Regions from separate parts of the Homo sapiens genome. Here regions 1 and 2 are each linked to region 3. The links are contacts of gene promoters, found by promoter capture Hi-C in human tissues and cell types (Jung and others, 2019). All regions are on one chromosome and are shown on one strand. The core of a region is centred on a gene start or on the middle of the fragment in contact, and the rest is flanking DNA. Distances in the headings are between cores, read along the strand shown. Region 1 overlaps LOC124903211 (WAS/WASL-interacting protein family member 1-like). Region 2 overlaps ARHGEF7 (Rho guanine nucleotide exchange factor 7). Region 3 holds the start of RAB20 (RAB20, member RAS oncogene family).

Region 1 (4,539 bases), core at 709-3,208, 770 kb after region 3:
GAGCTGCCTCGTTTGTGTTACAGTTGCATAGGGTTCAAACCTTTGCCATTACAAGACAATACTGTAATCATGTGTATAAGTTTCTATTCCTAACAATAATGCAATGAACACCCTTATAAAGAAGTCATTTCCCATCCACATGAGTAATTCCTGGAAATTAGATTGTGGGTCAAGGAACATGAGACATTTGTCGTTTTGACAGATACAGCCAAATTGTATAGATGCTGTTCAGTCTGTACCACCAGCAGCCTTGGGTGGGAACCTGTTTCCCAACATTCTGGCAAACACACCGTGTTATCAAACTTCTTGATCTGTGCCAATCTGATAGGTGAACTATTCTACCACATTGTGGTTTTAATTTGCATTCATCTTATTACAAGAAAGGTTAAGCAAACTTTCACACATTTAAGCCTTTCTTGCATTAATTTTCATTATTGTGAAATTTGTATTCAGGTCATTCACCAATTTTTAGAATGTTTTTAGTTTCTTATTTTTTACAGCGCTCTTTTAAAGTATTAAATAAGCATCATTAGCACTTCATCTATGATACTGGCTGCAATTTCCTTCCAGCTTCTACTTTAACTTTGCTTTTACTGTTTTTGTTTTGTTTTTACTGTATTCCCCCTACAGAATCCTATTTTAGAAAGTCAAGTTTATCAATATTTCTTTACTTTTCTACTTGGTTTTATGGTTTCATGTTTTAATATTTAATTTTTTGCTTCACCTGACATTTTAGTGAAAGGACACAGGCATCTAATTTTTATGTGTCTACAGGTATATTTTCTGGTTCTGCCAACCCCATTTACTGAATAATCTCTTATCCTCCAATGAAATAAACTGCCAGCTTTATAATATGCTTTGTCCCTTGTATCTAGATTTAGTTCTGTACCAAATACAACTGACCTTTTGATTTGGCTATGTTCATGTAGGTTCTCCACCTCCCACTGATTTGTGAGCTTCCTAAGCACACTGTCAGGGTTTGAGATTTTACTCCCTTTCCCTTAGAAAGTAATGTTAGCCCGTCACCGTTAGGTGGATGCTGGCAGAGGATGTAAGCCTTTCCGGTCAGAGACTCATGGCACAGAAAGTGGCATGACTTGCCTCTATTCCTCTTGCTTCCCGGGCAGCATGGGGCAACAGGGCGGGGCCTGTTGGATGCCACGCCTGCAGTGGGCTGTGTTTCGGCTGACACAAAGGACTTGGGTAATCCACCATTTTTGTAGCAGGAAATAAGCAGGCCCGCACTTTGTTCTGGAATGCGACCTCACCTCTTAGTGTGGTTTGCTGCAAGCACAACCCTTAAAAAAGGCTTGAGTAAAGCAAAGCCAGGGTCTTGCGTATTTCACTGACCCACTAACAGGCGTGGGAGCAGGAGAGACGCACAGAGGAGGGCCTTTCCCAGCAGACACAGCTGAGTGGTTGTGGTCGGTTTGCATTTTGATGTCCACAGGATCAGTGTCTAGTACAAAGTAGGTGCTTAAGAAACGTTGATAAATTTGACCGAATCCAACATTTCACTGGGTTAGAATGAATTTACCACCACACAGCATAACTACATCACTACATCTATTGAGTATTATTCTCTACTACACAGATGGGTCCTCACACTATGGACCCAGGCAGCGTCAAGAGTCCAAAACGGTACCTTCTAAAGGAAGCAACCTAAAAATAAAAGAAATAGAATTACTGTTTGACTCATTAAAACTAATTTCTGTGAAATGAAATTTAGAAACTTCCTCAGCTCAGAGATAAAAGTCACTTTCTCTACTCTACACCATTAGTAAGAAGAAGGTAAAATTGCAGCATTGGACATTAAAATCAAGCACTAAGAAAGTTTTTTTAAAAAAGCCAGATGATGGTTATAATATATGGCAATTTTTATCTTCAAATTATGTGTGGCAATATTGTAACAAAAGACACAAGAAAAAAATATTTGAGGAAAGAAATAGTTGAGGAAAATAGTGCCTTATTACTTAGACAGAAAGCTAATGGGGCAAAGACCTATGTTCTGGGTAATTCTTAGTATACGTTTGAGGCTTAACAAATATCTAGCACATTTTTAGTAACAATGTTTGCGGATTTTTATATTTTGAATTGAAAATGCCATAAATGCACCTTCACGATAAAGGGTGAGCCCACTTTTGTATTATTCTGTAACTAAAACATGATGATATTTAAAACAACAAAGCAAAATGATGATCTAGATATTAATTTCCTTTAAAGTTTATATTGTGAGAGACAAGGGTGCCATTTTGAAATTGTGGTGTACTTTTAGTGTGAAGAAACTTTAAAACTAGGTACAAGTTTATCAAAATAAAACAGGTAAGTATCAAGTCTCAAAAATATGTATTTCATTTTCTGTGTGCTTTTAGTAGCAGTGAGAATCATGTTTTTAAATTCTCACTTTTACTACCTAAAAGGAAATTTTTGTAGTATAAAATATAATTTTAAGATGTTTTCAATATATAATTCCTATTTTTTTTCTCTTTTAGCAAGACAACCTTGGGCTGACATTCGAAATTTTTACTAAAGAACCAGCAAGTACTAAAATGCAGGCTGATGTTTACACTTTCAGTAGTAATTCTTAGAATGTGTTTATCTGAACTGAAATCTCTACTTAACAGTCAGCGGGAAATGGCAATAAATGGCATCTGCCCTAAATTTCACAAGTTGTTGCTTTATTTATTTTCTTGTGAACCTCATTAATCCATACTCCCTCAAGTCACTTTAGTTTAGTTAATATTATTTGTGTGACAAAAGTGTTTTGAACAAGGAAAAATGGAAAATTCATGTATAAATAGCTAATCATTGGTCTTAAACATAGCATATACACGGAGGCTCAGAGGACAGGTTGGTAAAGATTACTCAAAAGGAGAATTAAAAGACCGCTCAATTCTCAGTTGTGTCATAATCGTATCTTTATGGTAGCTACATATTATAAAATGTTTTTTATTTATCCCTCATACTAGTAAGCGTCAAATTCATGATCTTTGTGAGTATACTGACAAACTACTCTCACAAGCTATTACTATTATTGATATTTTATATATCAACTTTTTTTCATCCATAAAAGTACCTCAACGACATGTTCAGTAGCAAATAAGTTTTCAGATCCCTTCACTCTATTGAATAACAGCTCTGAACACTTTGACTAACTTGAATATCTTCTATTTGCAATGCCTAAAGATTGAGAATAAAGCAGTTAAGAAGGAAGGTGTAATTTGTAAATTTAGAATTGCCAAATTAGTAATGAGTATGTAAGTTCAAATAATTTTACGCAATCAAAAAGATAGTGACATTCGATGCTTATTGCCATTTGTTATTTATGTTTTTAAAATACATTTTTGTTATGTGTCATTTTCAGAGTATGTTTTCTTTCCTATCTTACTTTTTCCAATTTGCTTTTCAATCTTTCAAGATGACTTTGGCTTATCCTAAAAAGAATGTGAGACTTAAAGGTCAATGTAGGGGAGAAATACAATTAAAAAACACTTGGCTTGCCAGATAAGCAAATCTTGATTATAACTTATTTTTGATTAGGTAAACATTCTAAAATAATACTGAATTTAGATTCTTGTTTTTATTTTGTTGGCTAGTATTCTAAACTCTTAAGTGGGCAGTGATATACATTTCTATTAAACTGTATAAGTAACTATGCAAATTGGGATATAAATTGCATTAGAAAATATGAACATATTTGCTTGATACTTAATTCAACCATAAAAAATAAAGTATTGCACTTATTAATGTTCTCTTCCCTCATTTGTCATCTGATATTGCTCTTAGTCACTCACTATCAAAATTTCTTTGTTTAATCTTACTTCTATTAATTTCCTTAAAGTTTCATGCAAAGCAAATTTATGTCAGGTTGTAAGCACCTTTCTCTCAAAGCAACCACCACTGTATTTGTGACAACTCATGCCAGAACCCTGAATCTGCCTTGGGAAGAAACATTGCCAGTTGGTGGCAGCATTCACAAGAGAGGGTCACATTTCCTCTGTTATCTTTAGGTTGAATTTCAAAACAACTCTAGAAAACAGACTCAGAGGGCTAGCCTTGGAAACAGCATGCAAACAACTGCAGAAAAGCGGAAGGTTTCTGACTATAATACAGTTCTACCAAACAGCAGAGCATGTGGCAAAAAAGCCAGGCTGGCTCCCTTCCTCCTGTTTACCTCCTGAGCAGTGTATGAAACAGGGTGAGCTTGCTCCTGGAATCAATAGGTGAATCAATGAACACAGGCTGGTCTTCCCCACTTCATAACATCTGTACTCTGTACAAGGACACTCCGGGCCACCCTCGCTGAGCATCCTCCCGCCCTCTCCCAGAAAATATAGCTGTGTCATCTTACAGACATTTTTAATGTCATCTGCTTATGATGTGCAGATTGAGAAGCAGACAATTTTGTTCTGCTCTGGCATGAAAAAAAAAAAACGTTTTAATCGGCAGCTAGGATAGCAACATGAAGCAACACACAGGACATCAATTTCATCATGCAAAATACCGGTGTATTATATTACAGGGGCCAAGCATTCCAAG
Region 2 (4,875 bases), core at 717-3,216, 620 kb before region 3:
GATGTCAGCTGAAGCTGTGGGATTCTGGCAGCCTAAGGCCTTGCAGGGACTGAGGAGGTGCTACCAAGACAGCTCCACAGCGTGGCTGTGAGCAGGAGGCCTCAGTTCCTGAGTCCTCAGAGAACGGACAACGGACTCCACAGAGCGAGTGATCCCAGGGCACACGCAGGAAGGAAAGCAGGGCCTGCAGCTTCAGGAATCCTATGAGCTAGCCTCAGCAGTCAGGCAGGCTGTGCTCGGTTCATAAGAAATGAGTCATCAGCCCCACCTGTACTCAAGGAAAAGAGAACAAGGCTCCAACTACAGAAGGGATGAGCATCCAAAAACGGGAAGACATTGCTTGAAAATCACCAGCAGATCCACCCACTCTCAGAGTGCTAGGTTTTTCTCTTCCAGCTGAGTGACCACACCTTCACACTGGATGTCAGATGTCACAGCCACTCTGCCTAGCGGACAAAAGTTGACAAAGAAACGGGTCACAGAAGGACACTCCAATGTTTGGGATTCGAAAGGCTCCCCTACTGATACCCCGATATTAGTGACTTTGCCTCACCCCACTTCCAAATTCATAGGAAGTGTAGAAATTCAGGAATATCTTCCACAGAATAAAAACAGCAAAGCAAACTACATCACAAAATAGATCGTGTGATATGTCTAATATATAACACAATGTACATTATGAAAATACTTCATATAATAAAGATCCTGTGTCAGAACCTTTCCACTACAAGCAAGTAAACCCAACTCAAATTGGCTTAAACAAAAAAAGGAAATTATTGGTTCGCACAACAAACAAGTCAGGAATGGCAAGAGCCACAAGCTCAGAACCGGAAGGCTTTCTCCGCTCTCTTTCCTACTCTCCTGAGTGTGCGCCACAGTTTCAGGAACGGTCTCCCTCATCAGGCAACAGGACCACTGGCAGCCCCAGGCCCACACCACCAGGTCAACACCTCAGATGCATCTCGCTGGACCCAGAGCCCACCACGTGAACCAATTTCACAGCCAGTGAAGCAGAACAAGGAGAGCTGTCCAAGGAGCCAACAATAACGGACACAGCATTCTGGCAAACCCACACATAAACATGTATTAATAATTTAGAGCACAAAAATTCAGACAGTCCCCCAGAGCTAAGGGACACCACTGTAGCACTAGGGCCACACAAATGCACGCAAAAGGACACACTGACCAGCTCTATTCCAGCCCAACTGCTTTCACACCACCCTCCCAATACCCACACCAACAAGCACAGCAACCTTAATCAACCCCGTCAGTACTGACACGAGAGCAAAAGAATGCCTCCTGCCTCCATGGTAGCGCTGGCTGATGCACCTCTACGTAGTAGACCCCAAAAAGACCAGACCGGGAAATGGGGAAAGAAGTAGTCGTCTTTTTGCTTCTCCTCACTTTCCACCATCTCAATACTGACGGAGAGGCCTCTGCAATGTGGGACTGAGCGCACACTTTCTGGGCTCACTGAAGCTTTAGTGGTCTGCGTTGCCACCAGTCAGCTCGCCTCCTCCAGGAACTTGAGAAAGTTATTCTTGACACAAGAAATTGTTATTTTTAGCACAGCTCTGGAGTGTGGTTTGCAAAGTTTAAAAATATAATTTTGTCCTATCACTGTCAAATGGAACTTGTGATTTCAGAACAAGAGTAAAAAATGAATCTTAAATAAGTGGTGCTATTTAAGTTTAATGCAAATGGTCCATATTGTTGGGGACATGTGAAAAACAGAAATCCAGCAGTACGTTTTCACTTCCTGGCTTCTGCAGATTTTGTACTTAATCCCACCCACTCCTACACCCCAGGGGTAAAATTAAAGTCTGATGACGGATGCTATCAATTACGGCACTTTCACCCAACATGCACCCAAATGATTTATTTCACTTTAAAATGAAAATCAAATCTTATTCAATTTTGTGGATTCCACTGTATCAACACCCAAACACTAGGACAGAGAATACATCTTCAAAAAAGAAGTAACCAAGTATTTTAGGTAGTTTCCAGGAAGGGGTGAGAGGAGCAGAGCAGGGAGGCAGGAGCACAGCAACGGGAAGGCAGGCAGGGCTCTTCCCAACAAGATGCTCTCTGCCTTCTGCAGACCGGGCGCAACCTCCACACGAGGCAGGGAAGCGCAGCCCCAACAGGCAGGGGAAAGGAAGGACACCTCCCTGCTTAGGACCACGGCATGCTGTGCTGGCCCACACAGCCCGTACCTCAGTGTAGACTGCATGCCAGTTTATCTTACAGGCAGAAAACGAAAACACACACACACACACACACACACACACACACACACACACACACGAGCTCCCAAAAGACAGTGTGACAAAGCTTACAAAGGCAGAACCAAGATCGGAGCCCACCAGCCTGGCTTTGCCCACACCACCACACTGCCAGCCAGGAAAGGACACCAGAGACAGTGGTGTCCCACAGCGGTCATGCAGGCAGATCAGGCAGCACCCAGGGGAGGAGGGGTGGTCTCAGACACAACTCACCACGTACACACACACAGCAGCCCATACAGCCTACACAGGCCCCCAAACTTCTGTCTTCGACTGCTAGGAGCACATGCCTGCAAAGAACAGCCTGGCTGTCGCCAGAAAGTGAGCACATACCACAAAGAAGGATCTGGGCAGATGCAACACACTGGCTTGGGCTAACAGTAAGTGAAGCAGTAACATTTACAGCTATAAAGGCAATGCGCCCATTCCATTAACTTCAAAATGCAAGCAGTTACAAGACTCCAGTTTTGAGAAGTTTCTCAAGATGGCCCACTGCAAACACCTATCTAACTCCCATCCCTCCCAAGGTGCCACCGAAATGAGAGAAAGAAAAAGCTTCAAAAAATTAACAGAGAAAGAACCCGCTGTAGTGCTAAAAAGGGAAAGGCTATGAGCAGTCTAAACAGGGTTTGAGGAGATCCCTGGGGACAGGACGCAGATGGACTCTGAATGACCTAACAGTTCAGAACAGCACTTGTAAGGGAGCCCCAGGAGCACCAAAGACGGTTTTCTAACACAGGAAGGGACACGTGACCCACCTCAGGACTTCAGCACGACAGCCCCTTCTTCCTGATGGGAAGCTCAGCACCCAGACCCCTCTCTAATTAAAAAGAAGCTGCTGCCTGCACTGGATTCTAACCGGAGGTGAAGTGACCCTCTCTAATTAAAGAGAAGCCTGCGGCCTGCACTGGATTCTAACCGGAACCTGATGCACCACTAGGCCCACACAACAGTCTCTGAGGAAAAAAAAAAATGACAATTCTACCCAGAAGCGAAATCCCCTGGGAGCTCCACCACCAGCCTGGACTATCCCCCATCTGAAGTGTGACACAGGAAACAGGTGCAGAGAAAGTGTCTCCCTCAGCTCTGCTCGTGTAGCTGCTTCTAGAGCCCTCCATCCGGTTCTCCCCACCTGCTCCCAGACACACAACCCGCACAGTGAAGCCCACGGGGCCGGTAACCCACACACAGGACTGCACAGTCCCCTCCGCTCTGATGCCAGTCAACTGGGCTTTTATTCACAAACAGGAAGAACCCATCAAGGCCACACCTGATAGGAAATAACAGCATAGCACAAAGAGAACTGACCTATGACTCCCAAAAAGATGGAGAAGACACATCTCCCCCTCCCTCCAGCTGAATGCAGCTAAAAGCCCTGGATGCTGCCTATAAAACAAACGTCAGCCTCAGAATGTGAGAGAGGAGGCAGACCGGCTAAGGGTTTCAGGGCTGGGAACCATGCCAGCGGGTTCTCTGGGTTTTCTTTTTGCCTCAAATGCTCCAAACTGAGTGCTAAACAAGCCAGCAACCCAGAAACACCAACAGGTACAGAAGAAAAGCCTCAAGAAAGACCTATCCTCTCTAGCCAAAGGACCAGGACAGGGCAGCCTAGTAGGTCAAAAAACTTCAACAATAACCATCTGTATTAGTCCGTTCTCACGCTGCTATGAAGAAATACCCAAGGCTGGGTAATTTATAAAGAAAAGAGGTTTAACTGGCTCACAGTTACACATAGCTGGGGAGGCCTCAGGGAACTTACAATCACGGCAAAAGGCACCTCTTCACAGGACAACGAGAGAGAATGAGTGCCAGGCAAAGCAGGGGAAGCCCCTTATAAAACCATCAGATCTCGTGAGAACTAATTCACGATCATGAGAACGGCGGGGAAACCAACCCGTGATTCAATTATCTCCACCTGGTCCCGCCCTTGACAGGTGGGGATTATTATAATTCAAGGTGAGATTTGGGTGGGGACAGAGTCACACCATAACACCATCCTACCCCAACCACACAGAGAGGGTTAAAAAATGCAGTCCCACCCGCACCCGGCCATAAGCAAGTGACCCCCGTCAACCCTTCCCCACAAGTCCTGGTGGAGACTTACAGAGCTCCTCATCTTTTACACAGGAGAGAAGTCTAAGATGACAAGTCAAGAAATACTAGAAATACAGTTAAAAGGTGACTACTAAAAAATTGAAAATTATAAAACCGGTACAATTAGCAAAAATTGGGATTTAGAGGGGCTGTGGGGAAGGTGAGAGACAGAGCAAGTATATTAAATTCCCTCCCTCATAAAGAGGCCATAATGGGGAAGAGAAGAAATGGATTAGAAGAGGGTTTATAGGTAAAAATCCACAGGACTTTATAATAATTGATAAAATGACAATGTACATGTAGTTTATGCACTATTTGATGCTATGCAAATGTAACTTTCAGCAGACAACATGAAAAGTTCAAAGGAGGTTTGATTAGAAAAGACGAAGCCACAGATGATGCCGGAGGTGTGAGACCTGAGGGTAGACCCCATCAAAAAACATCCAAAGAATCAAAACATTTGCCAGACAGCTTCTGAGAGAAATAGAAAAAAATA
Region 3 (4,904 bases), core at 1-2,500:
ACCTGACATGCCAGGGCTGAGCAGGTACGAAATACCTTGGCATTCCTGCCTTGTCGGAGTCTCAGGGCACCTACGAAGGAGGCAACGGGCCTATTTCCCTTTACAGGACACCTTCAGGACACGGGTTTTAACCTGCTCAGGGTCTCATCGCCTTTCCCAGCCAGGCCAGCGGCCAGAGTGACACTGTCCCCCAGGGTTTAACTTAGAGTCCATTCTACCTCTCATTTTCTCTAAAAAACCCCAACCAACCAACTAACCAAATTCTACACGCTGCATATTTTAAAAGCATTTCAAGGTTTATCCTTTAAAACGGAAGGAGGACCTGGGAGGCCGAAGCGGGTGGATCACGAGGTCAGGAGTTCGAGACCAGCCTGGCCAACATGGTGAAACCCCGTGTCTACTAAAAATACAAAAATTAGCCGGGCATGGTGGCACATACCTGTAATCCCGCCTACTCGGGAGGCTGAGGCAGGAGAATCGCTTGAAACCGGAAGGCGGAGGTTGCAGTGAGCCGAGATCGCGCACTGCTCTCCAGCTTGGGCAACAACAGCAAAACTCCGTGTCAAAAATAAAAAAAAAAAAAAAAAAAGAAGGAGGAAATATTTCTCAAGTAGCGACTGCAACTTCCATAGTCAAATTTTCATTCCAAGCTATAAATGGAGATGACTGTCCACTTTTCAGGACAAAAAGCTTCTTGCAAAAGTAGAAGAGCAAAAGCAAAATCCTCCACTAGAAAGCGCCCCCATCTCTAATCTGTAACAGTGAGAGCCTCAGGACGAGTTCCGCAGACGCTCATTTAAAGCAAACTTTTTCAATGACCTTGAGGGTGGCTGTACTTACACGCGGAGAAGCAAATCGACCGCAGCTGGAAAGGCGCTGGGTCGAGCGTGAGAGGAACACGGGTTTTACCTAAGGGAGAGTGGAAGAGAGAAGGGGGTTCCCCAAGGGCCCCGGCCCCTTCGCCTCGTTCGGGCCCCGCGGCCAAGCTCCTCGCACCGCAGCCCCGGCTGTGCAGAAGCGGAGGGGCGGAAGGTGCTCTCAGAACTTTCATTTTCCACCCTGCAGCAGTCCCGAGCCTCGGCTGGAGAACTCGGATGCTTGCGAAACGGCGAGGTCCAGCAGGGGCGGGACGGGGGCGGTGGGCGGAGGAGGATAGGGCGGGGCCGCGGCGGTGAAAGGGCCCGGGGGCGGGGGCGGGGGCGGGGCGAGGCGAGGCCGCCGCGGTCCGGGCCCCCGACGTGGGCTCCGTGCTCTGCACCCAGCTCCTTCCCGGGCGCGCACACGCGCTTCCTCTCTTGAGCTCCCGGGCGTCCGGAGGCGAAGGTCCCGGAGCGTTCACGAGAATCCGGGTCCCGGCGAGTCCGGGGTCCGCTCCTCCAGCTGCGCCCAGGGCGCACGAGCCGGCCAGCCTCGGGGAGAGGGCGCGGGGGCGCTGGGGGTTCTTACGGGAAGATGAGGAAGCCCGACAGCAAGATCGTGCTCCTGGGGGACATGAACGTGGGGAAGACGTCGCTGCTGCAGCGGTATATGGAGCGGCGCTTCCCGGACACGGTCAGCACGGTGGGCGGCGCCTTCTACCTGAAGCAGTGGCGCTCCTACAACATCTCCATCTGGGACACCGCAGGTGAGGCCGGCGCCGCATGAGCCACACCGCCCTGGGGCTCCGCCGGGGACGGGGGGCGCGGGGCTTCCAGCAGGGCACCCGGCCGCGCACAGGGTCCCGGCCTCGGACAGCAAATGCCTCCTTCTCGGGGTTTCCCACTCGTCCTCCCTTGCTGGTTGGGCTGAGCGCTGCCTCTCAGCCACTCAGTGACCTCAGGGACAACCCAAGTTGCAGAGAACCCGCTGGTCATTTGTGTACCTAAGCTGCCTTTGCTCCCGAGCCCCGCGTTCCTGCTCTGCCGCCCTGGGAACCAGAGACGCTCCTCTGTGGCTGCTTTGTTAGGTATTTTCAGTTTTCACGTACCCGTAGGAACATGATATCCTTTGAGATTCACTTGAGGGGTGAGCAGAGCTGGTGTTATTAGCCCCTTTCTAAGAAAAAGTAAAATGAGGCACAGAGTGTTCCCCCCTGTTGGGTTTAGTCAGGAGAGAGGAAATAAAACTGGAGCCTCCGGACCTCTTAGCCCGGAGCATATCTGCCTTTTACAGTTAATCTTCTGCTTGATCTTGGCTCAGATACGTCATATGGGTTTGGGTTGGAGTGACTTCCGGTGGAAGCATTTTTAAGATAGGTAATGAGTTATTTTTATTGTGTAGTATTTGTGACTTTTCAAAAGTACAACTTAGAGGATCTCAATTCAGGCTTTCTGTTTAACTTTGGAAAATAACACTGGTGATTGTAGCATTGCAATGGAATATATTTCCTTCTCCTTACAAAAGAATAAGATATTGTAAGTGAATGAAGAAACTGGAAATAGTGTGACACATTTTCAATGAGTGTGAGTTTTTAGAAGCCTGAAACTCTGAAAGTTCTGACTTCTTTTATGTTAGCATCTTAAAAAGTCATATACCCAAAGGCCCCGTCCAGAATTCTTAAATTGCCATCTTGGGTGTATCAGTATGCTGAATAAACAAGATGATAATGAATTCTCTCTTTAAAACTGAATTAACGAAGCTCACAGAGGTACTTCCAGTTCTCCCCCTCCCTTTTGCCTTCTTTGATGCTTTTTTATTATTATCCCAGTTAACATCGTGACTAATTTATTGGCAATCATCTTGTGAAAACAATGTCCCCCAGGTAAAGAGGTGCATTTCCCTGATCTTTGCTCCAACTCTGTCTTCTGCCTCAGGCTGCAGGATGAGGTTTACTGAGCTGACTCCCTCACACTGAGCATTTGGTAACGATGGAACACACGCTCTAGAAGTCAAATCGAACCCAATTCACGAACCCAATTTGCTTCTGTACAAAGTCAAATTGAACCCAATTTGGTTTTGTACAAAGCTTTGCCCCTCTGCTGCTTTTGCTGGTTGGCTGGGATTTACTGCTGCCCTTGGTTTACAAGTAGCAAGGTTAATGCAGGAGTGTTATTGGGGGACCCTAACCGAAACCCCTGTAGTGGCCACCGTTGGAGGCAGACTCTTAACACACGGTGTGTTTCTGGAACAAGAGCTGCCCTGCAGTGCTGGAACGGCCCCTGCATCGGAGGGAATGAAGCAGCAGTTTCGTTTCCACTGGCCTCTTGCTTCTTCAGCACCAAGGACGTGATGCAGCCGGAATCCTGATCACCAGAGATTTTGCAGTTGTGCTGATGTGACGCCCCAGATGTCTTGAAGCGTTACTGGGGGGCAGCAGCTCATTTCCTGGCATCCGAGGCTGCTGCTGCTTGTTCGAAAGATCCTAAGGGTGAATTACTAGAGCTCCTCAGAACAGAGAGTGGCCAGGCCCCTTCTCCACATTCCTGACTTCCTGTGTACACACTCAGGCGGCCCTTGCCCAGAGTTGGCAGGGACACAGGGCACCCTTGCCTGCCTCCTCGGTGGCCTGTGGCCTGACCGGGTACTTGAAGGGAAAAGAGAGGTAGGAACAGATACCTTTTCTATAATTGTTGGAAATTCAGAATTTAACATTTAGGGGACCCTGTTCTTTTCCTTCTTTTGCTGAGCTCCTAAACTTTCTCTCCACCCCACAGACATTGCTTTTCAAGTTGTTTTTGTTGTAATTGTCATAACCGAGGCAGAATGGTAAGGACCAGCCGGAGGAGGAACCATTTTGAAAGTTGCTTTTAGCCACACAAGGCAGGGTGGGCTGGGGTGGGGGTGCAGGTGTGCAGAGGGCGACAGGATGTTTAATAGTAAAAACGATTGCATGGGGGTCAGTGTACACCCAATGCCTGGCTGCTTGTAGCCTGCAAGGCAGGCAGTGGATGGAGCTGAAGAGGGGGAAGAGAGTTGGCAGGGCAGAAGTACATTACCCTATTCCATTGACACAACAGTCCTCCAGAGGGAGGTGTGATTATTTGCATGTTAAAGATGGGGCCAGGCGTGGTGGCTCATGCCTGTAATCCCAGCACTTTGGGAGGCTGAGGTGGGTGGATCACGAGGTCAAGAGATCAAGACCATCCTGGCTAACATGGTGAAACCCCATCTCTACTAAACATACAAAAGTTAGCAGGGCGTGGTGGCGCACACCTGTAGTCCCAGCTACTCGGGAGGCTGAGGCAGGAGAATCGCTTGAACCAGGAGGCAGAGGTTGCAGTGAGCCAAGATTGTGCCACTGCACTCCAACCCGGTGACAGAGCGAGACTCTGTCTCAAAAAAAAAAAAAAAAAAAAAAACAGATGGGAAGACAGGGCTGCGCGGTGGCTCATGCCTGTAATCCCAGCACTTTAGGAGGGTGAGGCGGGCAGATCACCTAAGGTCAGGAGTTCAAGACCAGCCTGGTTAATGTGGTGAACCCGTGTCTACTAAAAATACAAAAATTAGCTGGGTGTGGTGGCTGGCGCCTGTAATCCTAGCTACTTGGGAGGCTGTGGCAGGAGAATCGCTTGAACCCTGGAGGCGGAGGTTGCAGTGAGCCAAGATTGCGCCATTGCACTCCAGCCTGGGTGACAAGAGTAAGACTCTGTCTCAAAAAAAAAAAAAAAAAAAAGTGGGAAGACAGCAGAAGTTAAGTGGGATTTAGACCTTGGTTCATCCAACTCCAACTCACCTTGTCTCATTATGCCCTTTTAGGGGGCACTTGCCACTCCCAGCCCTTGTCTAATTGGGCACACAGATGTGGAGTGGTTGCTGTGCATGGGTGGGTACATCCAGGAAGCAAAAGGAGGTTGCCCAGCGAGGAGGCAGAGCCCTAGAAGACGTACTGCTGTGCTCCTCTGTGTTGCCCGGTTGCTCAGGACAGCCTAAAGTGGTGTTGCCTGTTGTTGGCAAATATAAACTGAGGCTCCCCGGTGCCGGGCACT

Evidence for each region. Contacts are between HindIII fragments. The study calls those that stand out against the background at their distance.
Region 1: a fragment that was not itself captured here is called in contact with the fragment with the promoter of RAB20 in region 3 in 1 of the 25 tissues and cell types used here (dorsolateral prefrontal cortex).
Region 2: a fragment that was not itself captured here is called in contact with the fragment with the promoter of RAB20 in region 3 in 2 of the 25 tissues and cell types used here (bladder and thymus).

The regions. Positions count from the first base shown.
Region 1 is chr13:109,790,944-109,795,482 of GRCh38, reverse strand. LOC124903211 (WAS/WASL-interacting protein family member 1-like) reads right to left here. Exons shown (of 2, transcript XM_047430835.1): 2 at 4,487-4,539. Among named protein-coding and RNA genes, the nearest start is that of IRS2, 6.6 kb to the right of the region's middle. The HindIII fragment of the contact is 6,622 bases long and covers 1-4,539 here.
Region 2 is chr13:111,183,394-111,188,268 of GRCh38, reverse strand. The region is part of intron 2 of ARHGEF7 (Rho guanine nucleotide exchange factor 7); the gene reads right to left. Among named protein-coding and RNA genes, the nearest start is that of ARHGEF7-AS1, 37 kb to the right of the region's middle. RefSeq lists enhancers at 3,040-3,299, 3,400-3,529, 3,990-4,129. The HindIII fragment of the contact is 3,787 bases long and covers 73-3,859 here.
Region 3 is chr13:110,558,068-110,562,971 of GRCh38, reverse strand. It overlaps RAB20 (RAB20, member RAS oncogene family), which reads left to right and starts at 1,250. Exons shown (of 2, transcript NM_017817.3): 1 at 1,250-1,624. The coding sequence starts at 1,453. RefSeq lists silencers at 1,121-1,570, 1,462-1,651, 1,631-1,690 and an enhancer at 4,532-4,904. The HindIII fragment of the contact is 6,225 bases long and covers 1-4,733 here.